Linked DNA regions of Homo sapiens: region 2 is linked to region 1. Evidence: promoter capture Hi-C in 16 types of primary human blood cells and fetal thymus (Javierre and others, 2016). All regions are on one chromosome and are shown on one strand. The core of a region is centred on a gene start or on the middle of the fragment in contact, and the rest is flanking DNA. Distances in the headings are between cores, read along the strand shown.

The links. The method cuts DNA at HindIII sites, captures the fragments that hold promoters and counts their contacts. A CHiCAGO score of 5 or more calls a contact.
Region 2: a fragment that was not itself captured here is called in contact with the fragment with the promoter of SLC12A5-AS1 in region 1 in 1 of 17 cell types (naive B cells); the score reaches 6.0 in naive B cells.

What each region holds. Positions count from the first base shown.
Region 1 is chr20:46,018,627-46,023,450 of GRCh38, reverse strand. It overlaps SLC12A5-AS1 (SLC12A5 and MMP9 antisense RNA 1), which reads left to right and starts at 1,378. Exons shown (of 3, transcript NR_147699.1): 1 at 1,378-1,927; 2 at 3,603-3,720. It also overlaps a transcript of SLC12A5 not described here. RefSeq lists silencers at 1,328-1,687, 1,708-1,867. The HindIII fragment of the contact is 8,792 bases long and covers 1-4,824 here.
Region 2 is chr20:46,142,139-46,147,777 of GRCh38, reverse strand. No RefSeq gene overlaps it. Among named protein-coding and RNA genes, the nearest start is that of CD40, 27 kb to the right of the region's middle. The HindIII fragment of the contact is 6,101 bases long and covers 12-5,639 here.

The DNA of each region.
Region 1 (4,824 bases), core at 129-2,628:
TGACAGAGGGGGGACCGATGCTGCCAGATTCAGGATAAGTTTCAGAGGTGAATGGCCAAGACGTGGGGATCAGTTGGATTTGCTGGAAAGAAAAAAGGAAGGGTTGAGAATGGCTCCAGAATTTCTTACTTTCAAATCTGGGAGGCTGGTAAGGTCATTCATGAAAATGAGAAAAGAGATTATGAGAAAGATGAAGAGTGGAAGGAGCCCAAGAAATCCAAGTGGCCACAACCAGGAGGCGTTCGGTTCCCGGGACTGGGGCCATTCGGAATTCCAGGCCTCAATTTGGTCATCTGTACAATGAGGAGGTCCGCCAGATAACCCCCTAAGGGTTACTCTAGGGGTTTCGGCGCTTGGGTTTGCTTCGGGGCGAGCTCACCTGCGGCTCGGCAGCGACCCCTGGCGGTCTGGGGAGGCTTCTCCTCCTCCTTCTCCTCCTCCTCCTCTTCCTCCTCCTCTTCCTCCTCCTCCTCTTCCTCCTCCTCCTCCTCCTCCTCCTCCTCCTCCCCTCGCTGGGGCCACTACAAGCCGATTCGCCTTGTTCCTTCCAGACCCGAGGGCCTCAGAGCCAGGGAGAGGACCCCTGATGAGTGCCCCCTGAGGGGAGACTGTGCACGCGCCCAGGATGCTACTTCTCCACCGAAGGCCAGAAGGATCTTTCCCCTCCCCTATACTCTGTGCCCTGCGTGTAACTTCCATTACAAGACCCTGCACAGGGCCCGCGAGGAAGACGCCCCCAACCCCGCCTGAGCTGGCTCCTCCCAACCCTTACGGAGCTCGAGCAGACAAGGAGCTAAGTGGGTCCCCAAGAGTCGGGATCAGCGACCCTACGGCATCCTCCCTGAATCTCGCTGCCCAGGATCCATACTAACTTCCCTGCCTCCCGTCTCCTTCCCGGGATCCCCAGTCGCTGTCCGCTAAGCCTCCAGGGAGCTAGAGGATTGGAGGATCCGCCAGGCACCGAGGACCCGCTGACCTGGCACCTGCCTCGGCAACCCTGACTCAGTTTTCCTCCCGCCCTCGACCCCACCCCCCTCCCAGGCCCCACTCCCATCCTCCTGGCCCAACTCATTCCCTACTAGTCCCGCCCTTTCCTGACCCCAAACCAACCTAGTCCCGCCGCCTCCCCTTTAGGGGCTCCTGACCATCCCCCTTCAACACACAGCCCCCTTTTTCCCTAGTTCCACCTCCTCACTCTGGTCCCGCTCCCTACTCGAGATGTCCCCGCCCCTTTAGTGCCCTACGGCCTACTCTCCACCTTGACCCCGGCCTTTCCATCACCAGACCCGCCCCCTTCGCCTCCGTCCAAACCCCTTCCCTGGCCCCACCCCTTTCCCTCGTGGCCACGCCCACCTCGCGTTTGGCCCCTCCCCCTCCACACTTTGCGTTCCGCGGCCCCGGCCCCTTGGTTTCCTAGTCCTGGCTCCATTCCCCTCTCAGGCCTAGGGCTGGGACCCCTCCCCGCCCCCGGTCTTGGCCCTGCCCCCTTCAACAGACGGTCCGCCCCGGCCCCTCCCCCTCGTCCCGCCCGGCCCTGGCAGGCCCCGCCCCCTGCGGCCTCTACCTTTGACGTCTTCCCCCGGGAGGTGGCGGGGGTCTGCGACCGAATGCCGGCGGGACTCTGGGTCAGGGCTTCTGGCGGGCCCTGCGGGGGGCAGCGAGGTGACCGTGAACCTGCGGCTCATGGCGCGGAAAGGAGCCAGGCGGCCGCGGCAAGGTCCGGGATCGCACAAGTGGCTGCAACCAGGCTCTAGGAGGGAGAAAGAGCGGATCCCCCAACCCCCTCCGCCCGCCCGCCCCCCGCGAGACGCGGCGCCGCGCAGGGTCCTAGTGCCCGCTGTGCGAAGGGTTCCTGAATCTGGCCACTTCGCTGGGAGGCCCTGGGCTCCCCAGTGCCACCCGAAGGGCCTGAGGAGGCCATCTGCAGGTGAGAGTCGTCCCTACAACGGGGGCACCTCTGTTAGGGTCTCCTAAACACCTGGGGCTCATTCATTCATTCATTCATTCATTCGGCACATGTCGATAGCGCTCCTGTGTTTCGGTCAATGGTGCGAGGGATACGTCGGTGGATGAGATCCACTGGCTTCTTGCCCTCAAGTGGCTTAAATTCTAATAAGGAGAAAAAGATTATAAGTGAGCAAATGCATAGATGAGATCATTTGAGATTGGATGTATGTTTAAAACTAGGGCCATGGGATAATGGGTAAGAGGGAGGACTACTTTAGGGGTGGCCTGAGAAGGCCTCCTAGAAGATGTGGTATTTGAGCTGAGACCTCACTGATGAGAAGGGCCAGCTATGCAAAGATCTAGGGGGAAGAGTTCTCTAGAAGAAGAAACAGCAAATGCAGAGCCTTGGAGTGAGAAGGAGTCCCGACTGTCCAAGAAACAGCAAGGCCATTGTGTCTGGAAGAGAGTGAGTGGAGAAGAGAGTGACTGGAGATGAGGGAGGAGAGAAGGGCAGATCATGTGGTCTTCTGAAGGCTTTGGGGAGGATCCTGGATTTTTTGAGCAGGGGAATGATGTGATCCAATTTATAATTTAACAGGATCATTCTGGCTGCTGGGCGAAGGTTCAACTAAAGAATGGCAAGAGTAGAAGCTGGAAATCTAATTAGGAGGCTCCTGCAGACCCCAAGCTGGGGGGTGATGACAGCCAGACTAGAGTGGTGGCAGTTGTCTGATTCCAGTTAGGTTTTGAAAGTGAAACCATCAGGACCCACTGATGGATCGGATGTGACACGTGACCATAAGAGTGAAGTCAAGGAGAAATCCTGGCAATTCACACACTGCTGGTGGGAGTGTAGTTAGGCAAAAACTACTTTGGGAAACTATTTGGAAACATCTACTGAAGGTGAACGTACACATATCCTTCAACCCAGCAGTTTTTCTCCTAGGTATATACCCGAAAGAAATGACTACTTGTGATCACCAAAAGACATTTACCATGAATGTTCATAGGGGCATTGTTCATAATAGCCCCAAATTGGAATCTACCAAATGCTTGTCAACAGTAAAATAGAGAAATAAGTCGTAGTACCTTCACACAATGGAATACCATCTACAATTCTCAGAACAATATGGATGAATCTCACAAATAGAACCTTGATAAAAAAGAGTCCAGACACAAAAGAATACATACCCTATAACACTATTTAAATACAGTAAAAAATAGTCAAAGTCTATCTAAGCTGTTAGAAGTAATGATAGTGGCACTGGGCGCGGTGGCTCACACCTGTAATCCCAGCACTTTGGGAGGCCAAGGCTGGTGGATCATGAGGTCACGAGTTCAAGACCAGCCTGGCCAAGATGGTGAAACCCCATCTCTACTAAAAATACAAAAATTAACCATGTGTAGTGGTGGGTGCCTGTAATCCTAGGTATTTGGGAGACTGAGGCAGAGAATTGCTTGAACCTGGGAGGCGGAGGTTGCAGTGAGCAGAGATCATGCGACTGCACTCCAGCCTGGGTGACAGAAAAAAAAAAAAGTAATGATAGTGGTACCCCTTGGGGAGAAGAGGTAGTGATTGCAAGCAGGCTTCTAGGGTGCTGATAATGTTTTGTTTCTTTCTTTTTTTTTTTTTTTTTTTTTGTCTCTTGAGACAGAATCTCACTCTGTCGCCCAGGCCAGAGTACAGTGTCATGATCTTGGCTCACTGCAACCTCCACCTCCCAGTTCAAGAAATTCTCCTACCTCAGCCTCCCAAGTAGCTGGGATTACAAGGTACCCACGACCGTGCCCAGCTAATTTTTGTATTTTTAGTGGAGAGAGTTATTCACCATGTTGGCCAGGCTGGTTTTGAACTCCTGATCTCAGATGATCCACCTGCCTTGGCCTTCCAAAGTGCTGGGATTATAGGCATGAGCCACCATGCCCAGCCTCTTGTTTCTTGACCTGGTGCTGGTTACACACTTGTGTTCCATTTGTGAAAATGTCTTCAAATGTACACTTATGATAGATACATTTGTATATTTATTATATTATGGCAATGGTTCTCAACTGGGAGCAATGTTGACCACCAGGGAATGTTTGGCAATATTCAGAGACATTTTTGGTTATCACAACTGGAGCAGGGGCTAGTACCAGCATCTAGGGGCTAAAGGCCTCTTGGGCCCTCTAGGTTTGTACCAGGGCTGCCTGGCCATGAGTCACAGTTCAACATTACCCTGCTGCACCCCATCCCCACACTGGGGCCTTCCTTAGCAGAGAGGGCTGACCCTGAATGGGCCTGGCATCTGGCCGTGGATCCTGTCACCTCCTAGAGGAAGACACCAAACATGCTAGAAGGTACAGTGTAGATGTACAGTGTAAGACAATCCCCCACAACAAAGTATCCAGCCCAAAATGTCAATAGTGTAGAGGCTGAGAAACCCAGTACTAGAAAAGAAGTTTAAATAACTGATTCCTAGATTTTAGGACTGATTAGGTGTTCAGTTTGATTGAGGGTGGATGATGCTGTCTCTTATTAAAGTGGTAACAACAGAGGAGCACGTTTGGAAGGTGAAACCCAGGAGTCAGTTTGGACCCGTTAGGTTGAGAGGTCTGTTTGCCAGCTAAGGAGCCATGTAGAGTAGGCAGTTGAACATGAGTCTGGAGCTCGGGGCAGGGGAGAGGAGGTTATGGTAGGAAACATAAATTTCACGGTCTTTAGCAGAGAGATGCTATTTAAGGCTGTGGGCTACCAGACATCACAGGGAATGAGTATACACAGAGCAGAGGATTCCCACGATTGAGCACAAGGGTGCCTCTGTCACCAGAAGAGGAAAATCCACCCAGTGAGGTAGGAGGAGACCCAGAAGTAAGGTTCCAGAGGCCGAGAGTTTCAGG
Region 2 (5,639 bases), core at 1,813-4,312, 120 kb before region 1:
CCTGGGAAGCTTGTCTCACTGTCCCAGGAGGGGACGATCGTACCAGAATTGACCTACTTTTCTCCCACAGCCAAGATGCCTCTCTCTGGCAACTTCACACTTTGGTTTACATACCTCCAGTGATGTAGAGATCGTTACCTTACCAGGCAATCATTCCGTTTCCCTATCTTGGACTTAAGACAACCCCAAATCTTCTGACTTCCAAGCTAAGACTCATTCATTCTAGAACCACACCCTGCCACCACAACTTTCTTTCAGCAAGGCCTGAGTATGTGTGAGCCTGCCTGTGTGTTGGTGGGTTTCTCTGTGTGTTCCGCACTGTGAGCTCTGAAGGGAGAGGAAATGAACTGGTAACAGTTCTGTATCCCCAGGACTCAGGGCCTGGCACACAGTAGGCACTCAAAAAAAAAAAAGAAACAGTCACACAATAGCTAACCTTTACTGAGCACTCCGTGTCAGGCATGAATTCCATGTGCTAATTTATTTAATCATTATAATAACCCTGGGATGCAGTTACCATTATCTCCAGTTTACAGAGAGGCAACCTGAGGCAGAGAGAGGTGAGATAACTTGCCCAAGGTCACACAGCCAAGACACGGTAAAGCCAGGATTTGAATGGTGAGAGTCCAGAGCGGTTATTCATACCTCCCAGGTGAAGATTATTTGGAATTAAAAAAGGGAAGGGGAAAAAGGAAGGGCAGACCCAGGTAAGTATCTCTGTCTCCCCCAAATAGCCCGGCTTCTGGAGGGCAGGAAACATATATTACTCATCTCTCTCTCTCCCAGAATCTAGTACAGTGCTTGGCAAACATTAGTGGCCAGTAAACAAGAAATGTTTATTGAATGAATGTTTAAGCCAGGCATGGTAGCTCACACTTGTAATCCCAGGACTTTGGGAGGCTGAGGCAGGAGGATTGCTTGCATCCAGGAGTTCGAGACCAGCCTGGGTAACATAGAGAGATCTTGTCTCTACAAAAAATGAAAAATTAGCCAGGCATGGTGATGCACACCAGTAATCCCAGCTCCTCAGGAGGCTGCTGGGGAGAGAGGGGTCTCAAGGCTGCAGCAAGTCGTAATCGTGCCACTGCACTCAGCCTGGGTGACACAGTGAGACCCTGTCCTCAAAAAAAAAAGAAAAGAAAAAAGAAAAAAAATCACACATGAATGTTTATACATCATAGGCATATTTTTCTCCCCCACTATCCCTAGAGCCCTTGAGGATCAGGAACTGAACTATCTTCATCTCTGTAGAGCTGCCACTAGCCCATTCTGTGTGAATTAGAAAAAGGTACCCCCTCTGGGCAGGCAAAATCCTGTGGATTCAGCTTGGCAAGCTAATGACCCGTTGCGCAAAGAAAATAAAAATCCCCCTTGCCTGGTGCCAGGGGTCCCAGGTTGACAGGGGGAGCCCCCACTCTCCTGCAGGTGCACCTTTGTGCAGCACACAACTTGAAAGGCTGTCCATGGAAATTCTGCTATGGCTTCCAGGGGCCCAGCACTAAGCCTGACCATGCAACAGGCATCGCGTTTGTTGAACGGCTGTTTGCAGTATTCACCTTTCTTCTACCCTATTTCACCCGCAGCCAGTCTGAGCCCCAAGAGAGTGATTGGTGGAAGAGCCACCAGCTGGGTATGATGTGGCCACAGTGCTGATGGGGGAGTTCGCAGACGTAAAAGGGGACAGGCAGGGTCAGGCATAATTGGTAAATATTTGTCTATCTAATCAGAGGGCCTTTTAATTAGCAATTTCATCCTTGCAACTGGTTTATTTTTTTTTCTTTCTGCGGGAAGTCAATTAAATGTAACAGATGGAGGAAAACATGGGGGTTTCCTTGTCTCCCACCATCTGTCCCATCCCATTCCACCCCCAGCTGTGCCCAAACCTCATTGGTGGGGCTGCCTGCCAGTTGCCAGAGAAGGGCAGTGCTAGGGGACATAAACAAAGGCAGGATTCCTGACCCCCGGGAAGCCCTCTTTGGTCTCTCTGGCCACCCTACACATGCAGGCTGATCCTGCCTGCACAGCCTATGACTCCAGGGTCCTAAGATCCTTTGCCAACAAGGTATCTCTTTCTGCCTGATCCAGTAGTATAGGGTCTGGTTGCCTTTATTTGAGCTCCCATGACAGGCCTGACAAGGGCCCGCATGCAGAAGAGACTCTTGTCTAGCTCAACAAACCTTTATTGAGGGTCTGCTTTCTGCCAGGCAATGTGTTGGGCGCTAGATACATAAATCAAATAGTCCCGGCCCTGCGGGAGTGTGTAACACATTGGGGAAGACGTTTTTCCATTCATTTATTCTTTCAATATTTATTAAACAGCATGTGCATCAAGCTCTGTGCTAGGCCCTGGGGACGCAATGATGAATCCAACAGGTCCCTGACTTTCAATAACTCAGTAAGCAGAGGACACAGGCCAGTAAAGTCATGCATTCAATACGTATTTATTGAGTGTCTGTGTGAGCCAGGCACTCTTCTGGCTGTTGGGGACACAGCAGTGAACAGCACAAAGTCCTTGTCCTTTCTAGTAGGGGGAAAGACAATCAACAGATGGATGTATAACGGCAGGGGTGATCCGTGATGTGAAGAAAAAATAGTCAAACAGCCATCATTTGGAGTTGTATGGAATCTTTTTTTTTTTTTTTTTTTTTTTTTTTTTGCGACAGAGTCTCACTCTGTTGCCCAGGCTGGAGTGCAGTGATGCAATCTCGGCTCACTGCAACCTCTGCCTCTGGAGTTGAAGCGATTCTCCTGCCTCAGCCTCCTGAGTAGCTGGGACTACAGGGGTGCGCCACCACACCCAGCTAGCGTTGTATGCAATCTAACTGAGCTCTGCAAGTATCCAGATTCCTTGGCATGGCCTATGAGGGCCCTGATCCCCAGGCTCCGGCTTTCTCTCTAGGACCGTTTCTCAGCACTCACCACCTTCTGGGCTGTGTTCCAGCCACACCCACCTTCTGAGGATTCCTCCAACTTGCTGCGCGCTGTCTTGAGGCTTTCGCCCAGACTGTTCCCTCCATCTGGGGCACTCCTCCCCTCTTCTTTGCCTGGCCAACTACTCAGCTGAAGCGTCCCTTTCTGGGGAAGCCTTCTCTGATCTCTCAGGCTGTGTTAGGTTCTTCTACTGCATTCCTGCAGCCCAGTGTGGGTGTGGCAGGTCCTCATCTGTCTCCTCACCCTGTCTGGGAGCCAGCCAAGGCCCCAGACCATATCTGTCTTAGTCCTCTGCACTGTCTCACCAGCACCAAGCTCAGTGCCTGGCACATGCCCCATCCCCTATCAAGCCCACCTATATTGACTTGGGTTCAACCAGATGAAGAAAAGGAGAAGGGACATCCCAGGGAGGGCCCAAAATTTGCAAAGACAAAGCAGCTTGAAAGATTCCTAAGTGTTCCAGAAATAGGGATAAGGTCAACATAGTCATTTTAAAAAGGGCAGCACACGAAGCTAGAGTTAAGCATAGGTCTTCAATGTTAAACTAGGATGTCTGCAGTTTATCCTTATAAGCCTACAAACCAACTTCAGTCATTCACATGAGTCTTCTATGACTTTGCCAAAGATCCATGTGTCCCTGTACTGGGGCTGTTGGCCTTTTTCTTTAAATTATCATTTTTCTTCACTTTATTTTTATAACAGCTTTATTGAGATATAATTCACATAGTATAAAATTCACCCTTTTTTTATTGAGACAGGGTCTCACTCTGTCACCCAGGCTGGAGTGCAGTAGTACAATCATGGCTTACTACAGCCTTGGCCTCCTGGGCTCAAGTGATCCTCCTGCCTCAGTCTTCCAAGTAGCTGGAACTACAGGTGTGAGCCAGCATGCCCAGCTAATTTTTGTATTTTTTTGTAGAGATGAGGTGTTGCTATGTTGTCCAGGCTGGTCTCAAACTCCTGGCCTCAAACAACCCTCCCTCCTCAGCCTTCCAAAGTGCTGGGGTCACAGGCATGAGCCACCAAGCCCGGCCAAATTCACCCTTTTAAAATGTATAATTCAGTGGTTTTTAGTATATTCACAGAGTCATGCAAGCACCACTGCTATTGAATTTCAGAACATTTCTCATTTCCTCCAAAAAGAAATCCTGTACCTTTTATCAGCCTCTTCCCATTCTTCCCTACCCCAGCCCCTGGAAACCACTGACTTTTTTTTCTCTGGATTTGTCCATTCTGGACATTTCATATAAATGGAATCATACAATAGGTGACCTTTCGTGAATGTCTTCTCTCAATTAGCACACGGTTTTCAAGATTCCCCATGTTGCAGCCTGTGTCAGTACTCCATCTCTTTTTATGGCCAAATGCTATTCCATTGTATGTACATACCACATTTTGTTCAGCCATTCATCCATTGACAGACATTTGAGTTTTTTCTACTTCTTGACTATTTTTAAATAATGCTACTATCGATATTTGTGTACAAGTATTTGTATGGACGTATGTTGTCATTTTTCTTGGGTATATACCAAGCAAAGGAATTGCTGGGTCATGTGACAACACCAAGTTTAACTTTTTGAGGAACTGATGGACTATTTCCTAAGTGGCTGCACCATTTTACAATCCCACCAGTGATGTACAAGCATTCCAATTTCACCAGGTTTAGCCGTTCTAGTAAAGTGATAATCACATTGTAGTTTGAAATGCAATGGTATCTCATTGTGGTTTTGATTTGTGTTTCCCTAATGACTAATGATGTTGAGCATCTTTTCATGTGCTTATTGGCAATTTGTATGTCTTCTTTGGAGAAATGTCTGTTCAAATTCTCTGCTCATGTTTTCATTGTATTTGTCTTTTTATTGTTGAGTTATAAGAGTTCCTTATATATTCAAGTCTCTTATCAGAATTTTTTTTTGCTTTATTCTTAAAAGGAAACCTATGTCACCATCTAAAATGGAAAAAAAAGTGACACCTGTCATACATCAAAGGTAACTGTAAAAAATACAACTCATTAATTCAATCAGCAAATAATAATCATCTTCTATGATTCAGGTACCATTCTTGGCACTGAAAATACAGCAATGAACAAGACAGGTAACATTCCTTCTTATGTGGAGTTTGTAATTATATGGAGGAAAGCAAAAAAAAAAACCTGTCATGCTCAGCAAAAAGCAAGAAGAGAGGGATGCAGTGGTGTCTGGAGTGGCTTTATTGTTGAGTACTCAGGGAAGGCCTCTCGGAGGAAGTGACCCCCCCCCCAGCAGATAGCTAAAGGAAGAGAAGATCAAGGGAGAGAAGTTCTGGGCAGAGGGAACACAGTGGGACCGAGCTCAGTAGGTTCAAGGGCAAAGGCAGGGCAATGTGACGAGAGCAGAGTGAGCAAGGGAGAGAGGGATATGGATGGAGTAAGAGAAACTGACAGAAAAAAACCCCAGTCACACAGCACCTTATAAACCAGAGCAAAGGGCTTGGATTTGTTGTAAGCACAAGGGGATGCCCTTTGAGAGTTTTAAGCAGTTGAGTGATGTAATCTGATTAATGCTTTTAAAAGATCCTCCAGCTGCCGTGTGGTAGGTTTGGAGGGATGCAAGTTGAGAGCGGCATGATCAGCCCAGAGGCTGCTGCAGCCTGCAGGTGAGGGGTGATGCTGGCTCGGACCAGGGCATGAGGACATGAAGGGAATTGGCTATTCCAGAATATGTTTTGCA